Linked DNA regions of Homo sapiens: all the other regions are linked to region 3. The links are contacts of gene promoters, found by promoter capture Hi-C in human tissues and cell types (Jung and others, 2019). All regions are on one chromosome and are shown on one strand. The core of a region is centred on a gene start or on the middle of the fragment in contact, and the rest is flanking DNA. Distances in the headings are between cores, read along the strand shown.

What was found. Contacts are between HindIII fragments. The study calls those that stand out against the background at their distance.
Region 1: a contact is called between a fragment that was not itself captured here and the fragment with the promoter of POC5 in region 3, in 1 of the 25 tissues and cell types used here (spleen).
Region 2: a fragment that was not itself captured here is called in contact with the fragment with the promoter of POC5 in region 3 in 1 of the 25 tissues and cell types used here (lymphoblastoid cells).

The regions. Positions count from the first base shown.
Region 1 is chr5:76,318,389-76,321,305 of GRCh38, forward strand. All of the region lies in intron 12 of SV2C (synaptic vesicle glycoprotein 2C), which reads left to right. Among named protein-coding and RNA genes, the nearest start is that of SV2C-AS2, 8.2 kb to the left of the region's middle. RefSeq lists an enhancer at 1,451-1,595 and a cis regulatory region at 1,514-1,531. The HindIII fragment of the contact is 6,535 bases long and covers 1-2,917 here.
Region 2 is chr5:76,274,800-76,278,049 of GRCh38, forward strand. All of the region lies in intron 4 of SV2C (synaptic vesicle glycoprotein 2C), which reads left to right. Among named protein-coding and RNA genes, the nearest start is that of SV2C-AS2, 35 kb to the right of the region's middle. The HindIII fragment of the contact is 4,277 bases long and covers 1-3,250 here.
Region 3 is chr5:75,716,157-75,719,318 of GRCh38, forward strand. It overlaps POC5 (POC5 centriolar protein), which reads right to left and starts at 1,281. Exons shown (of 12, transcript NM_001099271.2): 1 at 1,150-1,281. It overlaps LOC441087 (a long non-coding RNA gene), which reads left to right and starts at 1,276. Exons shown (of 3, transcript NR_149046.1): 1 at 1,276-1,428. RefSeq lists an enhancer at 677-986. The HindIII fragment of the contact is 10,988 bases long and covers 1-3,162 here.

The sequences.
Region 1 (2,917 bases), core at 281-2,780, 600 kb after region 3:
GCCTGGGCAATAGAGTGAGACTCCATCTCAAAAAGAAAGAAAGAAAAAAAAAACAGCATGAAACAATATAAATAAACTAGAACCCAATAAATCGTGAAGGCCCCAGAGAGGGAGCCACCATCCAGCTGCAGAGGTGGCCACATCCCCACCAGGTGAGTCTAAGTGCTGCTGCAAACCAGCTCCATATACCAGCACATGTGTCTCAGACCAAGGAAGTTTATGATGCAGGGAGGAGAGCCACCTTAATGGAATGAGCAACAAGGCAGCTGCAGTCACAGGGTACTTTTGGGGGAAATAATTTACATTTAAAAATTTTAAATAAGTAGATTGAGTACAAATTGAGAGCAAAGGCTTCTGGCTGAAGAGATGAGAAGCAAAGCATGGAGCAATAGAATGACACTAGATCATTTCATTCTTTCCCTTCAGTGCTTGTTGTTTAAGAGAAGGCATGAAAACATATTTGATCTGAAAAATAATGCATTAACTCATTCTACAGCTGAGAAGTCGGCAAGTCAGGGTTCTGCAAGCTCTGAGCTCCCCACCCTCAAAGGACTTTATGAGCAAAGGTGACTCGTACTTTGGGTGTCTGCAGAAGCAATACAGTTTCCTTTAAGTAAGAACAGAGAGTAAATGAACTAAAAGCCTATTTATTTTATAAACAGATAACCCCAAGGGAGAATCACTTTGTGAATGGTTTTTCTAATACAGCTGTGTCTCTGATGCATTGAAAAATCATGCCCAGCTGGGCGTGGTGGCTCACGCCTGTAATCCCAGCCCTTTGGGAGGCCGAAGCAGGCAGATTAATTGGGCCCAGCAGTTCAAGAACACCCTGGGCAACATGGTGAAACCTGCATCTCTACAAAAAAAAAAAACACAAAAAATTGCCCGTGTGCGGCAGTGCAAGCTTTTAGTCCCAGCTACCAAAAGGCTGAGGTGGGAAAATCATCTGAGCCCAGGAAGTCGAGGCTGCAGTGAGCCATGATCGCGCCACTGCACTCCAGCCTGGGCCACAGAGCGAGACTCCATCTCAAAAAAAAAGAAAAAAAGAAAAGAAAAATTACACGCTTCAGCTGCAAATATTTGAAAGAAGAATTTACTTTTCCAAGGAAAGGGTAGTCACGTTTTCTTGAATGCCGACACTAATTTACGGAGGCTGTGTGCTTTGCATCCACACCAGATTTTCATCTAAAGAACTGCCTTTGCTTGGTAAATGAAAATGGAGATTCTTAAGAAGGATTTGATCGTCTTTTTCAAAACCCTCAGATACCAGATGCTCCTAACGCATCTGCCTTTAGTCTGCCCAGGAATCTCAGGAAGTCATCCATTCCTCGAGTACAGTTTCAGTGATACAAGGAGATAGCAGCCCACATTTTATACGCTATTCTGAGTTATACCAGAGGTTCGTCGTTTGGGAAAATACGGTTATTTTAACCTAGATGCAAATCCTATCTGGGTTACTCTGCAGTTTCAGCATTGAGAGACTTCTTCATGACAGAAAAGTGGTTTCCTTTTTCTTATCAGCAACATACACTCAGGCCATTTTCCCCGGAAGAATCCAGCTTATCTTACTACTACAACATATATCTGGTCATTTATGACACTAGAATCTAGAAACTAAAATGTTAGTTTAACAAAGTGAAAAGCCAGGCACGGTGGCTCATACCTGTAATCCCAGCACTTTGGGAGGCTGAGGTGGGAGGATTGCTTGAGCCCAGGAGTTCAACACTAGCCTGGGCAACATAGCAATAGCCTCGTCTCGTCTTCCTTTTTTTTTTTTTTTTTTAAGTGAAAGAAGTCAGTCTTTAAAAAGCTACATACTGTGAGGTTTCAACTCTGTGACATCCTGGAAAAGGCAGAACTATGGAAACAGTAAAAAGATTGGTGATTGTTCAGGGTTGTGGGGAGAGAGGAATGAATAGATGGAGCATGGGACTTTTAGGGCAGTAAAGCTATTCTACATGATACTGTAATGATGGATACATGTCATTATACATGTGTCAAAACCCACAGAATGTACAACACCAATGTAATGTAATTGAACTTTGGCTAATAACAACGTGTCAATATTGGCTCATCAGTTGTAACAAATGTACCATACCAAAGCAAGAAGTTACTAGTGGAAACTGAGGGTATAAGAGAACTCTACTTTTTGTTCACTTTTTTTGTTGTAAACCTAAAGCTGCTCAAAAACATCTATTCATATTTCTAAAAAACAGCAAAAAGACAGTTTAGCCTCATGGCATATCCATGGAGGTGGGGGAGGTGGGGACGGGGTCATTCTAGTATAATTAAGTCTTCTTTGGTACACAACATATAGGCTCAAGCAATTTCATTTGAAAGTAGTTATCAGTATATTAAATCTCCTTATGTTTTTAGTGGTTGCTGCCATTACTAGTCTCTTGCTTTAAAAAAAGAAGAGGAAGAATATGAAATTAGCTTACCCTCTTCTCAAGAAGTTTCTTTCAGTCAGAGATTCTGTCATACTCTTCCCACATTCCAAACAGTTGGCAACTTTGCCTCACTTCAGGAGCCTGCATACTCTACTTTCTAGGTGTCTTAGCCAAAAAGAAAATCCGTGCTTACTGCCCTTTATTAGGTGTGATGTAACCCACAAAATCACTGGCTGTGCACTAACTCACAGACTGGATTTGTGCAGCTCAGGGAGGAGTGTTTATTCCTTTCCCATGGTGCAGAAAGGAGGATGGTTGGATAATAACCACAATAAATATCTCGGTTATGAAGAGTCCACACGTTATGGAAACAACTATCATTAGGTACAGTACAAGTAGCGATGAGTAGTTATGACTTGTCAAAGAAAAACCCACACTTACAAATTTACAAATCAAACAAAGAAAGATGTGTGCTAAATGCTGCATTTTGCCCCTTATAAGATGCATTTCCCTCTTAGGGGGAAAAA
Region 2 (3,250 bases), core at 674-3,173, 560 kb after region 3:
CAACCTGAGTTTCCAGCCAAGGATTAATGTTTCATGCAGATTACATAGTATTTATATTTTAAACCTGTGACATGTTGAGGGGATAAAATTTTATATCTGTAGGAACAAAATCAGAAATTTATCTGATCATTGTCCTCTTCCTAAGCTTGTTGGGCCCTTGAAAAAATGGATTTTGGGCCCCTTTTTAAAGAAAATTTTAGTTGGCCAGGTGCCTTGTGAGTAAAGAAGACCATAGACAAATCAATACAGGTGATTTACTTCTTAGCTTAAAAATTGATCTCACATATGATACTTAATGTTTTCGTTTAGAACCTTGGGTTTGTGTCTTGTACCTAAAATCTGCATTCCTACCAAAAACTATTTCATTAATAATATCACATAACCGACAGTCAAATACAGATCAGTAGGCCAGGTGCAGTGGCTCACGCCTGTAATCCCCGCACTTTGGGAGGCCGAGGCGGGCAGATCACGAGGTCAAGAGATCAAGACCATCCTGGCTAACACGGTGAAACCCCATCTCTACTAAAAATACAAAAAATTAGCTGGGCATGGTGGCGGGCGCCTGTAGTCCCAACTACTCGGGAGGCTGAGGTAGGAGAATGGCGTGAACCCGGGAGGCAGAGCTTGCAGTGAGCCAAGATCGTGCCACTGCACTCCAGCCTGGGCAACAGAGCGAAAGTCTGTCTCAAAAAAAAAAAAAACGAACACAAACAAAAACAAAACAAATATAGATCAGCAAAGTAGGTGTCAAGTCCCCAGGGGATCAGGGACAGAGCCCAGACAAGAACATGAAAGCCAGCATCCTTGTATGTGTGTCACATACCTCTGCCTTGGCACCTTGAAAGGTTTCAGACAGTCAGGCAACTGGGGAGGCAGCTGTTTTCTGCGGTCACAGAGCACATCAGCTTAAGGCTGGTAAAAAGCTTTGATTATTATTCATGACATATAATACTTTTATTAGCTCCACACTGATTAGTGCTGTGCTAGAACTGCTTTCTGTAAAATTGAGATCCTTCCTTGCATGGAACTTATATTATCTGTAGATAAATTCCTCGGTATGACATTTGAATGTCTTAACATTTGAGTATCTTAACAAAGTCCAAAGGATAATTAGAATCATCACTCATACAAGACATATTTTGAAGACAAAAAGGTGTGGTGCCAATATAAAAGGTTCATTTAAAAGAATCCATTTTACTAACTGCAGGTAAGTATCCAAAAGCAACAACCCACTTTCCCAGTTGATTGTGGCTTGTTTTCCCATTCCTGTCCTTTATTCCACGTTGCTGTCTCTCCACTTTCTGATTTTGTAGTGTAGGCTTTGTGTAGCTCTCAAATTCAAATTTAAGCCACTTAAAATGGAGCTCAAAAGCAGGTCCTGAGAATTGATGGCTGAGTAGTGATGGTTGTCAGTGTTTTACACCTTCGTTCTTATATCTATGTTTAACCCAGAGAATGGTATCATAGTTTTACAAAGCATTTGCAGGGTCATTTCTTGAGGCCCTCATGGTGTCTATCTCTCATTCAAGCCACAGGTTATCACCCATCAGCCTTTGACCCTGCCCCCTGCTATGGGACATGCCACAAGGCAGGAGGAGTACCCAACACCCTTTCCAGGACTCCCTCTCAGGGCTCAAGTGATCCTCCCACCTCAGCCTCCCAAGCAGCTGGGACTACAGGCATGTGCCTGGCTAACTTTTGTATTTCTTGTAGAGACGAGGTTTTGCCACTTTGTGCAGGCTGGTCTCGAACTCCTGACCTCAGGTGATCCACCCACTTCAGCCTCCCAAAGTGCTGGAATTACAGGCATGAGCTACAGTACCTGGCCTTTTCTTTTTCTTTTTTTTTTTTTTTTGAGACAGCATCTCACTCTGTCACCTAGTAGCTATGACCACAGGTATGCACCACCACAACTAGCTTTTTTCTTCCTTTCTTTCTTTTCTTTTTTTTTTAGAGATGAAGCCTTGCTATGTTACCCAGTCTGGTCTCAAAATCCTGTCCTCAAGCAGTCCTGCTGCCTTGGCCTCCCAAAGGGTTGGGATTACAGGTGTGAGCCAACACATCTGGCCTTGTCTGTTAACATATCTGCCTTTTTCAATGGATTATAACTTCCTTGAGATCAGGGAATCAGTCTCCATATCACAGCATTATGACAGGCACATATAGGCACTAAAGTAGGAATGAATGAACAAAAAGTAAATGAAGATATCACTAGGCATTAGGGAAACACAAATTAAAATTGTGATGAGATACCACTAGATACCTATAAGAAAGGCTAAAATTTAAGAAAAGAAACCTAACAAGTGAAGGGAAAGATGCGAAGCAGCTAGAGCTTGCATACACTACTGGTGGGAATTCAAAATGGCACAACCAGTGTGCAAAATGGTTTGGCAGTCTGCTGTAAAGCTAAACATGAGCTTATTATGTGACTCGACCATTCCACTCCTACATATTTACCCAAGGAAATTTTGGGGGCACACAGAAACCTGTATGAAATGTATATAGCAATTTTATTCATAATCACCCAAAACTGGAAACAATCTAAGTGTCCTTCAACTGGTGAGTGGATAAACTAAATGTGATATATTTACACAACGGAATACTACAACACAATGAAAAAGAACAAACCACAGGTATGTGCAACAGTTTGCATAAATCTCGACTGTAACGCAAAGTGTAAGAACCAGACCAAGGCTGGGCACAATGGCTCACACCTGTAACCTCAGCATTTTGAGAGGCCGAGGCAGAAGGATGGCTTGAGCCCAGGAGTTCAAGACCAGTCTGGATAATATGGTGAAACTCCGTCTCTACAAAAAGTTAGCCGGGCATGGTGGCGCTTGCCCGTGGTCCCAGCCATTTGGGAGGCTGAGGCAGGAGAATCACTTGGGAAGCCAAGGCTGCAGTGCTGAGATCACGCCACTGCACGCCAGCCTGGGTGACCTAGGAGACCTGTCTCAAAAAAAAAAAAAACAGATTCCAAAAGCTATGTACAATATGATTCCATTTATATGATATTCTAGAAAAGACAAAACTATAGGGACAGACAAGAGATCAGTGATTGCCAGGGGTTAGGGCTGGAGGAAGAGGTGACTCTCAAGGGGCAGCAGGAGGGAATGTTTTGAGGTAATGAAACTGTTCTGTGCCCTGATAATGATGGTGGTTACATGACTCTGCATTTGTCAAGCTCATAGAACTGTATAACTAAAAACAAATAAAGTTTTACTCTATGAAGATAATACAAACTTAATTT
Region 3 (3,162 bases), core at 31-2,530:
TCAACTTTTTCCAGTGAGTATCACTGTGCATACACATGTTAAGTAAACTAAATCTCAGCATGACTGTCTTTAGTTAAGCCAATTAGGGAGGATAAAATAAGTGCATGTATCTGCAGCAAGGAATGGCTGCTTCACTGACTTCAAATCTACCACTGTGATAACTTGGTCCATTTATATTTTTATTCACTTCTTCCTTCAGGATTTGAGACCAGGCAGGTAACAGGGGTGGGGGGGGGGGGGTGCTGATTATTTAAAAATGAGCTAGTAAGTATGGTCAGATCTCAAAAATTGTTTCTTAATATGGACACACTGCAGACACAAAAAAACCCACCGCACTCTTGGAAAATATGCTATCTTCCATCTGCCCTGCTTTATGTCAACAAGGTATGAGTTATTTGAAACTCTAGAACAGTAGCATTTTCCTTACTGTTTCTAGGTTCAGAAACAAAGGAGAAAAATGAAAACTGCTTTAATGGGTGGCGGACGCACATTAGTTCACTACATTTTCAGTAGTCTCTAATCCAAGGTATCAGAAAACAAGATCAAAACTTTTGTGTGCTTCTCTGTTGCCAGAAACATAAAATAACATCTTGGTAATTATCTGGCTGACAGCAAAACAGGGGTCTGGGAATTCAAATGGAACCCCCAAGAGGCAAAGGAAGAGCGAATTAACATGCAAACTAGCAGCAGGGTGATGTCGCCTGTGCCTTTCACCAGGCCTAGCTGCACTCAAGGAAAGGGGCGCGCCAGCCCCTCCCCAAAGCAGGGACTAGAAGCAGAGGAGAAAAGCCATTGCAGTAAGCAAAAGGCCATAAGTTTTCTTCCATCACCTTCCGACCCAGCCTGTTTTAAGAAAAATCTTACTTAAGCACAACAGAGCTTTATACATGGTTATTTTTTCTCAACGTTTTAAGTGACCGGAACCTCTGATGACAGTAATCGCTCAGCATCCCTCACTCCTGCTCACTTCCTCTTCCTGCACGCCTCGGAGGGGAAACTTTGGGACCTTCCGGCACAACAGCTGAATCACTCGCGGTCTGGGGAAGAGCCCAGGGGGAGGAAACACGCGCCAAGGAACTTTAAATCTCCCTCCACTACTTTCGCCAGGGATGCAGGGACGCAGGATCTGCCCGGAGCGCTGCTACCCACCGTCGCCGCTCGCGACCAAATCCCGACTCCTCGCTCTGCGCCTCTTAGCCGCGTCGCAGCTGCAGTGTCAGCAAGTGCAGCCTCAGCAAGCACAACCGCTACCTAGACGGCAACCTGACAGTTTCAAACTGCAGGGAGGAATTAAGGACCGCCCTGGGCATTGGTCCTTTGTTTCAGCAATCTGCCGTTTGATTGGTCCGAGAGCTGGGGGCGGGGATTTGGGCCGCTGCCGGGAGAAGCCGGAATTACTTTGGAGAGCCCCGCCCCCTGGCTCCGCAGGTTGGTAGGGGGCGGGGTCCTAGGGAGCCCCACCCAGCGCCCGTGGGGATTAAATATTGCGCGTGCTCAGTTCTGTTCAGCGGCTGCAGGCTGCTAAGCGGCTCCGGGAGCTGATTTGGATAGAGGCTGTTGAGCAGGGCTGAAGTTGGCTAATGCCGTGTGCTGTTGGCTTTCAACAATTCCGGTAACCTAGATATGAGTCCTAATGCTTTCGTCTGCATAAGAACAATCCGAAATTCTGGGCCAGGTGTGGTGGTTCATGCCAGTAATCCCGGCACTTTGGGAGGCCGAAGTGGGAGGATCGCTTGAGCCCGGGAGTTCGAGACTAGTCTGGGGAACATAGGGAGACCCTTTCTCTATAAAAAATTAAAAACAAAAAAAAAATCTGCATCATCCACAGATCCCCTGCAACAGAATCACTTGGAGGTGCTTTTTTTTTTTTTGAGATGGAGTCTTGCTCTGCCGTCCAGGCTGGTGTGCAGTGGCACTATCTCGGCTCACTGCAACCTCCGCCTCCCAGGTTCAAGGGATTCTCCTGCCTCAGCCTCCCGAGTAGCTGGGATTACAGACGACCGCCACCACGCCTGGCTAATTTTTGTATTTTTAGTAGAGATGGAGTTTCACCATGTTGGCCAGGCTGGTCTCGAACTCCTGACCTCAGGTGTTCCGCCCACCTCGGCCTCCCAAAGTGCTGGGATTACAGGCGTGAGCCACCACGCCCGGCCGAAGGTGTTGATTCCTTCGGTCATGGACACCGTCAGGAAATCTGAATTTTTAACACACACTGCCAGTGATTCTGATGCAGGAGTCTGCAGACCACCCTTTGAGAAATTGCTAGTCTAGGCTGGGCGCGTTGGCTCACGCCTGTAATCCCAACACTTTGGGAGGACGAGGCAGGCGGATCACCTGCGGTCAGGAGTTCGAGACCAGGCTGGCCAACATGGTGAAACCCCATCTCTACTAAAAATACAAAAATTAGCCGGGTGTGGTGGCTTACGCCTGTAGTCCCAGCTACTCCGAAGGCTGAGGCAGGAGAATCCCTTAAACCCAGGAGGCAGAGGTTGCAGTGAGCCAAGATATCGCCACTGCACTCCTGCCTGGGTGATAGTGAGACTCTGTCTCAAAAAACAAAGAAAAAACCAAAATTGGTAGTCTAGTTTTAACTAATCTCAAACGTGTCAGACTTCAAGATAGAGCCTTCTGGTGAAGTATTGGCCTTAGAATCAGATCATAATTATAATCTAGCTTTACCATCTACTCGCTGTCACCTTGGATAATACTACTCACATACTAAGGTGGTAGGAGATTAAAGGAATTAATATATCTAAAACACCGAACACACAAACATATAGTCTTTCAACTTACATTGGCAACAGATAGGCTAGAGGTATGAGGACCCAGATGGCAAAGGTACCTAAGTAGCCCAGACTGGGGTTCTGCAATCTGAAGAACAGATACTGAGATCTGGGTGAGTTTTCAGGCTCCCTTCTGTTACCTCCAGTATAAGGTTTCTTTTTCTGTAGATAGAAATGACATAACCTGGGTCTCACTTACTTTTATGTTGGCAGAACCAGACTTCTACTTACACAAACAAGTAAGAAGAGCACCAGAAGTTTCTTTGGCATAAATTATGTTTGTTCTCCCCCTTTTTTTTCATGCTTATTATAGAGGACAAGTTCCTATTAATAGCTGCAAATTCATACTTGGTTCTAGTATTTGTTTTTTAATTGAATT